3 separate regions of the Homo sapiens genome follow, and all the other regions are linked to region 1. Evidence: promoter capture Hi-C in 16 types of primary human blood cells and fetal thymus (Javierre and others, 2016). All regions are on one chromosome and are shown on one strand. The core of a region is centred on a gene start or on the middle of the fragment in contact, and the rest is flanking DNA. Distances in the headings are between cores, read along the strand shown. Region 1 holds the start of CDCA3 (cell division cycle associated 3). Region 2 overlaps LTBR (lymphotoxin beta receptor). Region 3 overlaps CHD4 (chromodomain helicase DNA binding protein 4).

What was found. Contacts are between HindIII fragments. The CHiCAGO score rates a contact against its expected background, and 5 or more counts as called.
Region 2: a fragment that was not itself captured here is called in contact with the fragment with the promoter of CDCA3 in region 1 in 1 of 17 cell types (monocytes); the score reaches 5.3 in monocytes.
Region 3: a contact is called between a fragment that was not itself captured here and the fragment with the promoter of CDCA3 in region 1, in 3 of 17 cell types (activated CD4 T cells, fetal thymus and non-activated CD4 T cells). The highest score is 6.0, in activated CD4 T cells.

What each region holds. Positions count from the first base shown.
Region 1 is chr12:6,848,996-6,854,088 of GRCh38, forward strand. CDCA3 (cell division cycle associated 3) reads right to left here and starts at 2,291. Exons shown (of 6, transcript NM_031299.7): 1 at 2,227-2,291; 2 at 1,838-2,014; 3 at 1,472-1,601; 4 at 570-863; 5 at 328-434; 6 at 1-203. The coding sequence starts at 1,957. The coding sequence ends at 48. It overlaps USP5 (ubiquitin specific peptidase 5), which reads left to right and starts at 3,155. Exons shown (of 20, transcript NM_001098536.2): 1 at 3,155-3,295. The coding sequence starts at 3,185. RefSeq lists silencers at 2,297-2,346, 3,017-3,126, 4,097-4,146 and enhancers at 2,507-2,786, 2,793-3,753, 2,857-2,906, 3,177-3,816. The HindIII fragment of the contact is 8,619 bases long and covers 1-5,093 here.
Region 2 is chr12:6,390,904-6,395,996 of GRCh38, forward strand. LTBR (lymphotoxin beta receptor) reads left to right here. Exons shown (of 10, transcript NM_002342.3): 10 at 1-663. The coding sequence ends at 34. Among named protein-coding and RNA genes, the nearest start is that of LTBR, 9.3 kb to the left of the region's middle. RefSeq lists an enhancer at 1-570. The HindIII fragment of the contact is 2,950 bases long and covers 428-3,377 here.
Region 3 is chr12:6,585,196-6,590,288 of GRCh38, forward strand. CHD4 (chromodomain helicase DNA binding protein 4) reads right to left here. Exons shown (of 40, transcript NM_001273.5): 23 at 3,103-3,227; 24 at 2,517-2,754; 25 at 2,189-2,364. Among named protein-coding and RNA genes, the nearest start is that of CHD4-AS1, 19 kb to the left of the region's middle. The HindIII fragment of the contact is 7,516 bases long and covers 1-5,093 here.

The sequences.
Region 1 (5,093 bases), core at 1,041-3,540:
GATATCACCAGGCCCTGGGTGACTGCATTGCTGGGGCCATGCAGGGCCTAGCTCTCCACCAAGGGAAAGTGCTGATTTTCCTTGTCATGGTCCTGGCCTTGCTCCCATGCTCGTCCTCCAGTTTTCAGAAGTCGTCCAGTTCCAAGAATGGCTCCTTCCTTTAGTTCACTAACATTTTCACTTAGGGGTGAAGGCCGCTTACCCTGAAAACGGCAGTGTATGAGTTGGGGGGAGTTGCTGTTCAGAAGAGGGAAGATCTGGGTAAAAGGGTCTCCCACCCTCTACGTTGGATATCCTAGTAACAGCTTGCACTTTCTCTTCCTTTACCTGTCGTAGTGTCAGGGTGCCAGGGGAGTTGTCATCCTGCAGGATGGTGAGGGGGGATCTCCCTAGTACCTTGCTGCTGTTTGGTTTCCATCTATTGCGCATAGAACCTGGGGTGGGTAAGGCGTTAAAGCAAGGACCCAAAACTAGGACTTACAGTTTATTCCTCCCACACTCACCCATGGACCTTATCCCAAAACATTATCCTAGTTTATCTTCCCTGCATCTTGCCTTAGATTCTGTACCTGAAGATCTGGGAGTCTCAGGGTCCCTTGAGGGCTTGTCGGAGCTCTGGCTGGCCACAGGGGTTTCTGTGGGCTGTCTTGCTTCCTCCTTGGAAAACACCTGTTTGGAGGGGAACTCAGTCTGGTTCCAAGGTGGCATCTGTTCCTCAACAGATAACTGGGTACCCAGAGGCAAGTCCAATTCAGAAGATAAAGGTGCCTCTGGGGGCAGAACAGGCTCTGGGGGAAGATTTGATTTAGAGTCTTCAGTTTCAAATACTTCACTCAGCTGTTTCACCAGTGGGCTTGGGGGGTCTAGAGGAAGAAAGTGAAGTGAACAGTGACCTTCTGATACACAACATTCAGCAAGGAGCAAAACATACAGAAACCCAGGACTCATGCCCAGGAGGGTGAGCAAGTGGGAAGAGAGAAATCAAGGAAATCAAGGTGAAAGGGAGCAATTTTTTTTTTTTTTGAGATGGGGCTTGCTCTGTCCCCCAGGCTGGAGTGCAGTGGCGTGATCACAGTTCACTGCAGCCTTGACCTTGTGGGCTCAAGCAATCCTCCCACTTCAGCCTCCTGAGTAGCTGGGATCACAGGCCCATGCCACCGTGCTTTTGTGTGTGTGTGTGTGTGTTATGTGTGTGTATTTTTTCTAGAGATGGGGTTTTGCCATGTTGCCTAGGCTGGTCTTGAACTCCTGGGCTCAAGCGATCTGACCACCCCGGCCTTCCAACGTGCTGGGATTACAGGCATGAGCCACCGCACCCAGGCTGGGAACAAAATATTGAGATAAGAGTGAGATGGGTCCGAAGCAGGAGGATAGAGGCCCCTTTAAGGAACCCTGAGAGAATGGCTTCATGGACCCTACCCAAGAATAATAGATGACAGCTTCATCAGCATTCCCTGGGCCCAACGCTTACCTCCACTGCTGGTCTTCATAGGTGTCCGTGCAATACCAAGAGTAGGAGAGCGGGGATCTGAGTCCTGGGCATGTTTAAGACCCTCCAGTTGCTCCCCTGCTGGTAGGCCTGGCTGTGGAGAGCTCTCCACCTGTCAAGACCATAGGCTAGAACAAGTCTGGGCCCTGACTCTTCTCTCCTCTCCTCCCCATATTCCAGGAAGGAATTGCCAAGGCCCTCAGATATCCAGCCTACCCCACACAGATTGAGATTGCAGAAAATAAGGCTAGGATAAGGGTGGGGTCATGACGGCTCTCTCAAAATCAGGTTAGGAAGAGACCCAAGAATTCAGACATTCTCTGCCTTTCCCACGCTGGCCCAGAGTACCTGGATGGGAGTGCGCAGGATGCCAGCACTAGGTGAACGGGGGTCCGCCACTCGAGCCAGATGCTTGTTGTGCGGCGGAGGCCGCGCTGGTGTGACTGGGACGCTCTTGGCTGAGCCCATCTCAACCAGGAGTTGCAGGGTGGGGGCAAGGGCCAGCCCGGGACGAGGAGGGAATGCCTGTGAGAAGTGACTCAGGTCTCAGCCCTTATCTCTTCCACGTCGGACCTTCAACCCTAAACCACCCTGTCTTCCCAGTTTCCAGTGAAGAAACTTCCTGGCGAGGGACCAGAGGCCTCTGCGGAGTTAATGACTGCTGCAGCTGACAAAATGGCTCGTTCTGGGCCTGCTGAGCCCTCTAACTTATTTATTAAATTATTCAAATCACTTACCGGGCCCCAATTCCACCTCTGGATGCACAACAGCTCGTGGCTCAACTCCCGAAGTTACCAGTTTCAAACTTCCCGCCACGCCCCCTGCCCTGACCCTATTGGCTGAGCCGACGTAGTTCCCATAGGCCCTCCACGTAAGACCCGCCTCGAGCCAAAGGAAGCTGTTGGTCTGGGAGAACGTCTATCATGGTGACTGTAGGTGTCAATGGACTGATGCTAGGCTTGCCCAGGGGTGACGCCTCCTTGATAAGGGTACTTCTGTTCAGTATCGGCCTGCGAGCCGTCCGTGGCAGGCTGAGGAGTGCCAGTCTTCGCTTTCGAGACGTCTAGTCTCAAGAACGAATTATTAAACAAAATAGAATCATGAGTGATTACACTATTATGCGCACATCCAGCTGGAGTTGTGATGGTTTTCCTGAGGCGAGCGATAGTAGCTTTATTGGTTGACAGCTGTATCAGTCACTCGACACAACCCCCTCAAGCTCCGCCTCACTGGATACCCCCTTTACAAATACCAAGACAACTGTCCCTCGACTTTCCGACCGGACAGGTCCCCAGGAAACTTTCTGGAATTGAGAGGCCTAAAACAACCGTCAGTTCCTGCTCTTCAATAGAAGGCACGCGAATGGACTCTAAGGGTCCCGGAGCCGGAGCAGCTGCGGAGCCGCAGCAGCTGCAACCCCGAAGCCCACCTAGCTGCTCTACGTGCGCTCCCGCCCTGGAGGAGTGGGATTGGTTCTTTCAACCATCAATTGCCTTAGGAGCGCTTCTCATTGGCGTCAGTCAAGCGCGGGGCAGGGGCGGAGCACCGGCAGGCAGGCTCCGTCCAACTGCCATTCTCGCGCGTCGTCTCCGCGGCGCATGCCCCTAACGAGTGGCGCTCATTGGACGGGAGGGGCAGGGGAGGGGACTGGGAACGGTGGGAGCCGCCGTGTGTGGAGAAGCTGCTGCCGGTGTCATGGCGGAGCTGAGTGAGGAGGCGCTGCTGTCAGTATTACCGACGATCCGGGTCCCTAAGGCTGGAGACCGGGTCCACAAAGACGAGTGCGCCTTCTCCTTCGACACGCCGGTAAGCCCATTCCCCACGCCCGCAACGAGCACGACTTCCTTCCATCGCCCTGGTCATTCCGCTGGGGCCTGCAAGGCTTGGGCTACCGCCTCCCTGCGATGCACCATGGGACTTGTAGTCTCCCACGCTCCACTCTGCCGTTGCCTTTCATTAACTGCGGCTGTCGTGTGACTACCGTCCCCGGAAGCCGCCGCGCTCACCTCTCCGGCTCCCCGCTTCGTGGAGCACTGTGGGCATTGTAGTCACTCACTGCCTTCGTTGCCGTTCTAAGCTAGGGGCGCAGCCCGACCGTCGGACTACATCCCCCAAGTGGACCCTTGAGAAAACCTGGCAGTCGGCCTTGTCTGCCGCGCACGGCTCTCCGGGTTTTGTAGTCTCGTGTAGGAGTGATGGGGACGACTCCCCACTGTTCTCGGCCGGGGTTGGAGTTGGGGGGTGGGGACCGCAGTTCCTAGGCGGTTAATAGTCTGGGAGTGGACTCTCAAGAAGTCCGATTCTGAGAAAGGCAGAGAGCCTCCACCCCGTGGTTAAAACAGACAGGGGGCGGGGAGGGGAGGAAAGAGGAGAGGAAAGCTCTAGTCGTTTCTCCTTTGAAGTGAGCAATGGCCGCAGCCCCCACCCTTCCCCCCGCCCCCCAGCCTATCACAGACAGCTGAGATAACCCCTTTTAAAGTATTCCTAGAGAGGTGGTTTCTTTCTCGGAGGATGCTAAGGCCTCTTTCCCATCCCGCTCCCACTCTTGGCTAGTTACACAAAGCCACCTCCCACACCATGCTTCACGTTTTGCAGGCTCCACCTGGTACCTCCCTTCCTGCAGTTCTGCCTTCCCTATGTCACCCTCAAGCGGAGGCCCTTTGGGGCCTGAACTGAGAAGGCAGCAGCTTGGTTGGGATCCGCCCCCCTCACCACCCCTCCCCTCAAGCTGCTGTGCCCTGCCCAGTGTATTCTGCCAGAACCAGCTCATGGCCTGAAAACTGCAAGTCAGAGTGGAAAGCCTTCATTACTGCATCACCAGTACTGAGTAGAACAGCATGATGTGAGGCCCAGTTCAGGATCATCACTGTGATTTGTGGTTTGCTTGGTTTGCTAGGCTTTGATCTGGGCCTCAGACAATGTGCTGCTTCTCTGAAGTCTGGCTTTGGCAGAGGTAAAAGAGCACTGCGCGGAGCAGAGCTCCGGGGTTCCCAATCCTTGGTGAAATCAGCATCTTTAATTTCCAACAGAGGAGTTTAATCACTTCAGAGCTCCCACATTCTTCCCAGGAGGGAAAGGTTTTTCTTAAATTACCAGCAGGTGGTAGAAGTCAGTGGGTCCCTCTTTACACTTTTATTCACTCCTGTCTCTCTCCTTAGTAACTGCTTTGAATAATCCAAAAAGGGTTTTTGTAATCTTCTGAAACTTTCCCTTTTTCACCCCAAGTCAAGAGATTTTCAGTGTGCCCTAGTTCTTTGCTAACCAACTTCCAGCATATTTGGTTACCTTCAAATTGGGCTCATGGTAGAAAGAGCTTAGTTGACCTCCCCGGTGAGAAATGCTCTATTTGTTCATGAACTTGCAGTACACACTGTTCCTAGGAAGTGGTACAGAGCAATCTATGGGACCAAGAACTACCTTAGACAGTGCACTATTTTTCATATCACAGCAGAGAAATGTTCAAGGCCACTGAGACTTTTATTCCTGGAAGAGGATGTCTGTTGTTGCTCAAAGCCTTGGATCTGAGGGAAGACCCTTATTGTCTCCAATTTCCTCCTCCACCTTCTCCATCACTCTTTACAAAGGCACTGGAAAACTTGGTCAG
Region 2 (5,093 bases), core at 653-3,152, 460 kb before region 1:
GGGCCCAAGGAACCAATTTATCACCCATGACTGACTGAGTCTGAGAAAAGGCAGAAGAAGGGGGGCACAAGGGCACCTTCTCCCTTGAGGCTGCCCTGCCCACGTGGGATTCACAGGGGCCTGAGTAGGGCCCGGGGAAGCAGAGCCCTAAGGGATTAAGGCTCAGACACCTCTGAGAGCAGGTGGGCACTGGCTGGGTACGGTGCCCTCCACAGGACTCTCCCTACTGCCTGAGCAAACCTGAGGCCTCCCGGCAGACCCACCCACCCCCTGGGGCTGCTCAGCCTCAGGCACGGACAGGGCACATGATACCAACTGCTGCCCACTACGGCACGCCGCACCGGAGCACGGCACCGAGGGAGCCGCCACACGGTCACCTGCAAGGACGTCACGGGCCCCTCTAAAGGATTCGTGGTGCTCATCCCCAAGCTTCAGAGACCCTTTGGGGTTCCACACTTCACGTGGACTGAGGTAGACCCTGCATGAAGATGAAATTATAGGGAGGACGCTCCTTCCCTCCCCTCCTAGAGGAGAGGAAAGGGAGTCATTAACAACTAGGGGGTTGGGTAGGATTCCTAGGTATGGGGAAGAGTTTTGGAAGGGGAGGAAAATGGCAAGTGTATTTATATTGTAACCACATGCAAATAAAAAGAATGGGACCTAGATAATTTATTTTCTTGGGATTTATACAGAAACACTATTCCATGGAGACAATCTCAAAGACAAAGGTCAAGACACTAAAATATAATCCCATAAAGATATTTCAGTGAGGAGCTGGTGAGTATAGTCCAGGTAATAACAGTCTCGTCAGTGATGGCTGACAACGTGCCAGGCAGTGTTCTCAATGCTTTACAGTACTAACTTACTTAATCTTCACAATAACTCCCTAAGGTAGATATGATTCCCATTTAACAAATGAGGAAACTGAGGCACAGAGCGGTAACTTTCCCAATTCAGCTGCAAATGACAAAGCTGGGATTTGCACCTAGTTCGTCTGGCTTTTAGAGGCCTCTTGGGGAAAAAAAAGCCTTCATATACCACGCCCTTCCAGAATTTCTTTGAACGGGTAGAATGGTCTGGCCTTCTCAAATAATCAGATCTCTTGCATGTTCCGCAGGTGTTACTTTTCAGTCAACTCTCAAACATCTAGCCACACGCGAAGTGAAAAATGTTCTCCAAGGTTGATTGAAGGGAAATGTGTGCAATTTTTTTTTTTTTTTTTGAGACAGGATCTAATTCTGTCACTCAGGCTGTTGTGCAGTGGCACTATTATGGCTCATGGCAACCTTGAACTCCTGGCTCAAGGGATCCGCCCACCTCAGCCTCCCAAGTAGCTGGGGCTATAGGTGTGTGCCACGACGCCCAGCTAATTTTTTGTATTTTTAGTAGAGATCAGGTCTCCCTGTGTTGCCCAGGCTGGTCTCGAACTCCTGGGCTCAAGCAATCCTCCTGCCTTGGCCTCTGAACATGCAGTGATTACAGGCGTGAGAGCCACCGTGCCTGACCTGAGGTGTGCACTTTAGACATAAAATGAGAGAGGCCAAGTTCACATTTTGTTGGTGAACAGAAATCTAGGCTGGCCTCCTTTTGGTTCAGAAAGAGTATTTATGATTTTTACTTTTTTGGTTTCTTTTTGTCTTCTTTTATTTTTACCCCCAAAAAGGACTTTAAATCTTCTCAAGCCCTCTTATTAGTAAATGTTTGCCCCTCCCTGCCCCTGAATTCTCTCCTGTGCTCGGTCGAGAGGATCTTAGCTTGCAGGATTGTTAGGGAGCTGCTGCCAGCCGGCTGCTCCTTCCATAAAAGGCCACTCTCATGGGTCTGATATGAGGAACTCTGTCGCTGGAGCTCATCAGGGTGGGGCGGCTGCAAAACACACACCTCAGAAGGCGTCTGATCCAATGGAGTGGATGGGTCATTTAAGGTTGACTGTGAAAATATCACATCCAACTTCCTTTTTTGAAAAGTAAATAATGGTGAGCTGTATCTTTAAATAAAGTTAAATCCTCCTGCCCCTGCAATATGCTGGGGCCAGACCTCATGAATTCTTAATAATTGTTCTAATGTGTTTAGATAAAAAACAAATTTTATACATTTTTTTCAACAAAATAAAAGGAGGAAAATATTTTGAAAGAAATGATGCTGAAGCACAGCCCTTTGTGACACCATTCAAATTTATAATTATACCTGCCTGTATTTTTTTAGAGACAGGGTCTTACTGTGTCGCCCTGGCTTGAGTGCAGTGGTATAATCGTGGCTCATATAGCCTCAGCTCCTAGACTCAAATGATCTTCCTACCTCAGCCTCCCACGTAGCTAGAGCTACAGATGCGTGCCACCACACCTGGCTAATTTTTTTTTAATTTCTTTTTTAAGAAGTGGGGTCTTGCTATGTTGTCCAGGCTGGTCTCAAACTCCTGGGATCAAGTGATCCTCCCACCTCAGCCTCCCAAAGAGCTGAGATTGCAGGCATGAGCCACTGCACCTGGGCTGCCTAAATTAATTTTCTAGGGCCGCCATAACAAAGTACTGCAGACTCGATAGCTTAAGCTGCAGAGATTTATCTTCTCACAGCTCTGGAGGCTGGAAGTCAGAGGTCAACGTGTTGGCAAGGTTGGTGTCCTCTGAGGCCTCTGTCCTTGGCCTGCTAATGGTGGCCTTCCTGCCACCTATGTCTTCACATGGTCTTGCCTTTGTGCATGAGTGTGTCCTAATCTTCTCTTAGTGGATTAGGGCCCATCCTGATGACCTCATTTTAACTTAGTCACCTCTTTAAAGCCCCTGTCTCCAAATAAGGCCCCATTCTGAGGTCCTGGGAGTTAGGGCTTCAGCACGTGGATTTTGGAGGGAGACACAGTTCCACCCACAGCATTACCCATGTCTATTTTGCCAGTGTGGAGTCAGTACAGGCTCCAGGACACATCCACAGAGCACAGGCCACGTAGAGGGGAGCTCCTGTCTACAAGGAAAAGCTGGCAGAAAACCAACAAAGACAGCCTCTTGATGGTGGTCTTCAAAAGATGCAACAGGATGCAATGGCAGTTGACAATGGGGTAACTGTTGGTTGTGAGAACCCTAATCCTCTACCACAGGGAGGAGAAAGCTAACACCAAGTCCAACCCACATCAACACGGGGGTGGGACACCCGTTAGGGGGCCAAGGCTGTAGTCCAGAAGAAAGGTGGATGGAACTGGGGACAGAGCAGTAGCACAGGGAGATGGGGGAGGATGGGGTAATTCAGAATTTCCCTTTTTGAGAGTGGCATCAACACAATGTCAAAGTAGGAGTTCTCCGGCTTCTCTCCTCCCCAACAGAATTTCAACTAGCAACAATCCTGTGGCAAGTTTACCACCCTGAATATCCCAGAACTTGGAGTGAAGCTTTGCATCCCCTGGGATGGCAGAGCCAAGAAAAACCATGAGGACGGTAAGGGGATGGCTGCTTTCTGACCACGCCACTCCTCCCCAAGCCCGCACAGTGCCACACGCAGAGGAGTCCCTGGATGCTCGGTTTCTCCAGTGGACACAGTGGATGGGAGGTGGGCGTTCGGCTTCCCCACCAGTCTGAGACTTCACAGGAGACTCACTCTAGTCTTTTCCCGCAGGAAGCACTGTGAGTACCGGCAGGGTCAGCCCAACAAGGGTCAGTAAGAACTTCCCTTTTCAAAAGATAAAGCGGTTCACATAGACAGCTGTGGTGGACTCTTTCTGCTGCCTGTCCAACAGACTTCTGCACATTTCCTAAGGACAGAACCGCATTTTTGTACTAGAGCAGAGATTCCGTGACATCAGGAGAAGAGGCCCTTCCCCCAATCCCAGGAGCCAATAAACTCATTCTTCTTTGCAATTGTACAATGACATGCACAGGGAAGTCTTCCTTTCCAGGGTATAAAGCACCATTAGGAGAAAGTTTTTGGTTTGCCTTGGCCCTTATTTTTTGTTTTGGGGATTTTGCGTGTGACAACATCACTCCTGAGCTGTGGCAGCCATCTTACCATCATGAGGAAACCGCCACGGGGATAAAAAGCCAGTCCTCTGAGGACCTGGAAGAAAGGACAGAACCTGGCTCCCAAGGCATCACTGAGACCCAAATCAACAGTAAGTAAGCACAGCACCTACTCCTGGGCTTCTTTTTATGAGAGAAAAAAAAAGTTCCCATTTGTGTAAATCATAGTGTTTGGTGTTCCTTTTCTTTTTTAGTTTTAATTGTATTTATTTCCTCTCTTTCGGATGGTTGATTTATTCACATGGGTCAAAATTCAAAAAGTATCAAAGAGTAAACAGTGAAATGTCTCTCTTTCACTCCTATCCCCCAACCACCAAGGTCCCTGCTCTGGAAGCAACCAATGTTACTGTTTCTGATGCTTTTCCAGAGGTAATTTATGCATATTCAAACAAATATATATAAATAGATTCCTTTGCTTTTTTATTTCTACAGATGGTACTACAGTAGTCCCCCCTTGTTTGTTATTTTTTTTTCTTGTTTGTGATTTTGCTTTCCATGGTTTCAGTTATCTGCTGTCAACTGTGGTCCAAAAATATTAAATGGAAAATTCCGGAAAGAAACAATTCATCTGTTTTAAATTGTGCACTGTTCTGAACAGCATGATGAAACCTCAAGCTGTCCTACTGAGACAGAGTAGGGATGGGACTCGGGCCCCACTCGTGCCCTACCAAGAACCTCTATTGTAAGCTGGGGTGGGGGTGTGTGGCCAGTGAGGACCCCAACCAGACTGTCCAGACCTTGCACCATGAATCTTGCTCAAGGTACTATACCCACTCATCGCAGACCCTTAGAGAGACTAAGATGAACAACGTCCCACCATAAATCTTACTCCAGGTGCCAAACCCACTAGTTGTAGAAATTAAAATAAGCAGCTCCCACCTTGAATCTTACTCAAAGGAGTTAACCCTATCTCCCGTATGTATACCACAGGACCAGAAGAATGAGCGCTCCTTTGCCTTATCTTCATTATAATACTAAAAATCACACCGGGGTGGAGACTTAACATGCTAATGAGACACACGATGCATAAAGAAGCATGTTATCAAACTGAACAGGTGCCAAAATTTCCTCATCTCTACCTGCTCAAAC
Region 3 (5,093 bases), core at 1,135-3,634, 260 kb before region 1:
TAAAACAAGCCACACACACATTCCTCACATACTATTTTTTTTACTATAAAAGACCAAGAAAAAGAAGGGAGGAGAATAAAAAGGTATATACCGATTCTAATCTTTTTGAGACGGAGTCTGGCTCTGTCCCCCAGGCTGGAGTGCAGTGGGGCAATCTTGGCTCACTGCAAGCTCTGCCTCCCAGGTACAAGTGATTCTCTGCCTCAGCCTCCCGAATAGCTGGGACTACAGGCGCCCGCCACCACGCCCAGCTAATTTTTGTATTTTTAGTAGAGACGGGGTTTCATCGTGTTAGCCAGGATGGGCTCGATCTCTTGACCTCGTGATCCACCCGCCTTGGCCTCCCAAAGTGCTGGGATTACAGGCGTGAGCCACCACGTCTGGCCCAATTCTAATCTTTAAAAAAACATGGTGAAACCCCATCTCTACTAAAAATACAAAAAATTAGCTGGGTGTGGTGGCACGTGCCTGTAGTCCCAGCTATTCGGGAGGCTGAGGCAAGAGAACTGCTTGAACCCGGGAGGCGGAGGTTGCAGTGAGCCGAGATCATGCCACTGCACTCCAGCCTGGGCGGGAAAGCAAGACTCTGTCTCAAAAAAAAAAAAACACACACACAAAGAGGCCAGGCGTAATGGCTCATGCCTGTAATCCCACCACTTTGGGAGGCCGAGGCAGGCGGATCACTTGAGGTCAGGAGTTCTAGAGTATCCTGGCCAACATGGTGAAACCCCGTTTCTACTAAAACTATAAAAAAATTAGCCGGGCATGGTGGTGCATACCTGTAATCTCAGCTACTTGGGAGGCTGAGGCAGGAGAATTGCTTGAACCCAGGAAGTGGAGGTTGCAGTAGGCTGTGATCGCACCACTGAACTCCAGCCTGGGCAACAGAGCAAGACTCCGTATCAAAAAAAAAATATATAAGGCCAGGGGCAGTGGCTCACGCCTGTAATCCCAGCACTTTGGGAGGCAGAGGTGGGTGGATCACAAGGTCAGGAGATCGAGACCATCCTGGCTAACACAGTGAAACCCCATCTCTACTAAAAATACAAAAAAAATTAGCTGGGTGTGGAGGCAGGCACCTGTAGTCCCCAGCTACTCGGGAGGCTGAGGCAGAAGAATGGCATGAACCCGGGAGGCAGAGCTTGCAGTGAGCCAAGATCGCACCACTGCACTCCAGCCTGGGGGAGAGAGTGAGATTCCATCTCAAAATAAATAAATAAATACATACATACATACATACACAAGGAGGCCTGGTGTGGTGGCTAACACCTGTAATTCCAGCACTTTGGGAGGTCAAGGCAGGAGAACTGCTTAAGGCCAGGAGTTCAAGACCATCCTGGGCAACATAGCAAGACATCTCTAAAAACATTTAAAAAATTAACCAGGTGTGGTAGCACACATCTACTAGGGTCACTCTTCAGCCCAAGAGTTTAAGGTTGCACTCAGCTATGATTGTGCCACTGCACTCTAGCCTGGGTGACAGAGCAAGACCCTGTCTCTTTTTTTGTTGTTTTTTTTTTTCAAACACAGTCTGGCTCTGTCATCAGGCTGGAATGCAGTGGCGCAATCTCAGCTCATTGCAACCTCCGCCTCCTGGGTTCAAGCAATTCTCCTGCCTCAGCCTCCCGAACACCTGGGACTACAGGTGTGCTTCATCGTGCCTGGCTAATTTTTTTATTTTTAGTAGAAACGGGGTTTCACCGTGTTGGCCGGGCTGGTCTCAAACTCCTGGCCTCAAGTGATCTGCCTGCCTCGGCCTCCCAAAGTGCTGGGATTACAGATGTGAGCCACTGCACCTGGTAGAGACCCTGTCTCTTAAATAAAAACCAGAAAACACAAAGAGATAGATTACCTAGGATCTTCTGCCTTTTCTCTAGAGAGATGAGGTAGCATTCAAAATTTCATTTGTAAGGTTTAATAAAACACATAGGAGAAAATGACATTCTGGTAAAGAGCCAAAATAACTGTTGTGAGCATGATATTTGGTTGTAAGTTTTCTGACAACCAAGGCAAAGATGAAAATCTGATTAGTCATGTTATCAGCTTTGTTTTCAAAGGAAGAGGATCAATTCATCAACATAAGAATTTGCCTACAGATATTTTCCACTTGTCTCAAATACCACCTTGGTCTCAATGCCAATTTTCAGACCAATTACCAAGCACAGGATTGCCTTGGATTCATACTCACCCCCATTTCTTCTTCCCGTACCACATACTGGGCCACTTTGAATGAGCTCAAATATTCATTCATGCCCTGCAATTCTGTGTCTTCAGTCTCATCCTGGTTACGGTCTAGCAGCCGTTCAATGGCCTTATCATCGTAGTGGATAACACTGCTATCTTCTCCCTCTTTGTTGTCTCCTCCTATAAAAAATCAAGGGCCCACATCCCCAAAGTCAGTTTCAGCAGCTGCAGTGGAAAAAGCAAGTCCCACAAGACCCTTGGTATCAAAGATTCTCCCTAACCTTTAGAGAGGCCAAGCCCCACACCAAAACGTAAGTTCCTGACTACCTCACCTCCATCAGTGGCTTCATCCTTGAATAGTTCCTCAGTGCCAAATTTGAGGATATCATCAAGCTCCTGTTTGGACATAGATCCAGTCTTGGAGCCCAGCCCAGGCCGCACCACTAGATGCGTCAGCATCATTTTCTTCTTTGCCACCTGCGTGATGCGCTCCTCCACTGACGCACGGGTCACAAACCGGTAGATCATTACCTTTTTATTTTGCCCAATCCGGTGAGCTCTGCTAAAGGCCTGGAGTTGAACAGGAAATAAAGCCAGAAATTGTATTTTCCTGGTGCCACTCTTATCCTGACTTCCACATAATATTCTAAATTCAGTACAAGGCAAGGTCCACAGCCTACATTCATAGGAAACTTCCTTTTGCACCCCTGCCTCCAGACACCACCCTCTATTATCATGTTACCCAAAATAGGATCACAGCTAACCAAACTCTGGCTTACAATAAGGTAAACAACACAAAAAGAATCTGTTGTTTCTCACTTAAAAACCTAATTCCAGATGGTGGAGCCCTCATAGAGGCCACTATGCCTTTCTAGCATAACATGTTACTTATTAAGGCTGCCTGCTGCCTCTGCTCACCTGAATGTCATTATGGGGGTTCCAGTCAGAGTCATAGATAATAACTGTGTCAGCAGTGGCCAGATTGATTCCAAGGCCCCCAGCTCGAGTGGAAAGCAAGAAGCAGAACTGCTGAGCACCCGGTGCTAATAAAAGAACCAAAAACACCATTAGAAGTGTCTCCTAAATTCCAATTCATAAATGTAGTTTAAAAAATTAAGCCGGGGGCAGTGGCTCATGCCTGTAATCTCAGCACTTTGGGAGGCAGAGACAGGTGGATCATTTGACATCAGGAGTTCGAGACCAGCCTGGCCAACACGGTGAAACCCTGTCTCTACTAAAAATACAAAAATTAGCCAGGCGTGGTGGTATACACCTGTAATCCCAGCTACTCAGGAGACTGAGGCAGGAGAACCGCTTGAACCTGGTAGGCAGAGGTTGCAGTGAGCAGAGATTGCACCACTGCACTTTAGCCTGGGCAACAGAGCAAGAAACTCCATCTCAAAAAAAAAAAAAAATTTAGCTGGGAATGGTGGCACACGCCTGTAGTCCCAGCTACTCAGGAAGCTGAGGCAGGAGAATCACTTGAGCCCAAGAGTTCAAGGTTATAATGAGCTCTGACTGTGCTACTGCACTCCAGCCTGGGCAACAGAGCAAGACCCTAACTCTTATAGAAAAATGTCAGAATAGGCCAGGTGCAGTGACTCACACCTGTAACCCCAACACTTTGCGAGGCTGAGGTGGGCAGATCACCTGTGGTCAGGAGTTCGAGACTAAGCTGGCCAACGTGGTGAAACCCTGCCTACTAAAAATACAAAATTAGCCAGGTGTGGTGGCAGGCACCTGTAATCCCAGCTACTCGGGAGGCTGAGGCAAGAGAATAGCTTGAACCCGGGAGGCAGAAGTAAAAAAGAAAGAATGTCAGAATATAAAACCTCATTAGGCAAACACCACAGTAATAATCATTGTAATCAAGGTCCACTGACGAATACTAATATCGGTGTGAAAGTTTAAGGAGAAACAGGACACTGACATAGTCTCAAATATCTCCCTCAAGCTATTTATCAATCACAATGGGAACAATAGAAACTTTACACTGCAGAAACTCAGCAGGCACCACCTTAACCAGTGATCAAGTCATTACCAGTAAGGGGACATATGAACATCATGTCCGTCCCCCAGTATGATGAACTGAAAAGGACACATCATCGACTGGGCGTGGTGGCTCACGCCTGTAATCCCAGCACTTTGGGAAGCTGAGGCGGGTGGTTCACAAGGTCAGGAGATCGAGACCATCCTGGCCAACATGGTGAAACCCTGTCTCTACTAACAGTACAAAAATTAGCCGGGCGTGGTGGCGGGTGCCTGTAATCCCAGCTACTCGGGAGGCTGAGGCAGCAGAATGGCTTGAACCCGGGAGGCAGAGGTTGCAGTCAGCCAAAATCAGGCCACTGCACTCCAGCCTGGTGACAGAGCAAGACTTTGTCTCAAAAAAAAAAAAAAGAAAAGGACACATCATCACCTCTGTGGCATTCTTGCCCAGAATGTCTAATCTAATCAAGAGAAAACATCACACAAACCCAAACTTAAGAGACATTCTACAAAATAACTGAACAGTGCTTATCAAAAGTATCTATATTGACCAGGCACAGTGGCTCACACCTGTAATCCCAGCACTTTGGGAGGCCAAGGCGGGCGGATCACCTGAGGTCAGGAGTTCGAGACCAGCCTGGCCAACATGGTGAAACCCTGTCTCTACTAAAAATACAAAAATCTGGGCCCGTGGTGGCACACACCCGTAATCTCAGCTACTCAGGAGGCTGAGACAGGAGTATTGCTTGAACCCAGGAGGCATAGGTTGCAATGAGTCAAGATCGCGCCACTGCACTCCAATCTGGGCAACAGAGTGAGACTCCATCCCGAAGAAGAAAAAAAATCTGTATCATATAAGAAAATAAAGAAATGTCACAGATAGCAGGAAGCACAATAACTAAATGGAACACGGGACCTGG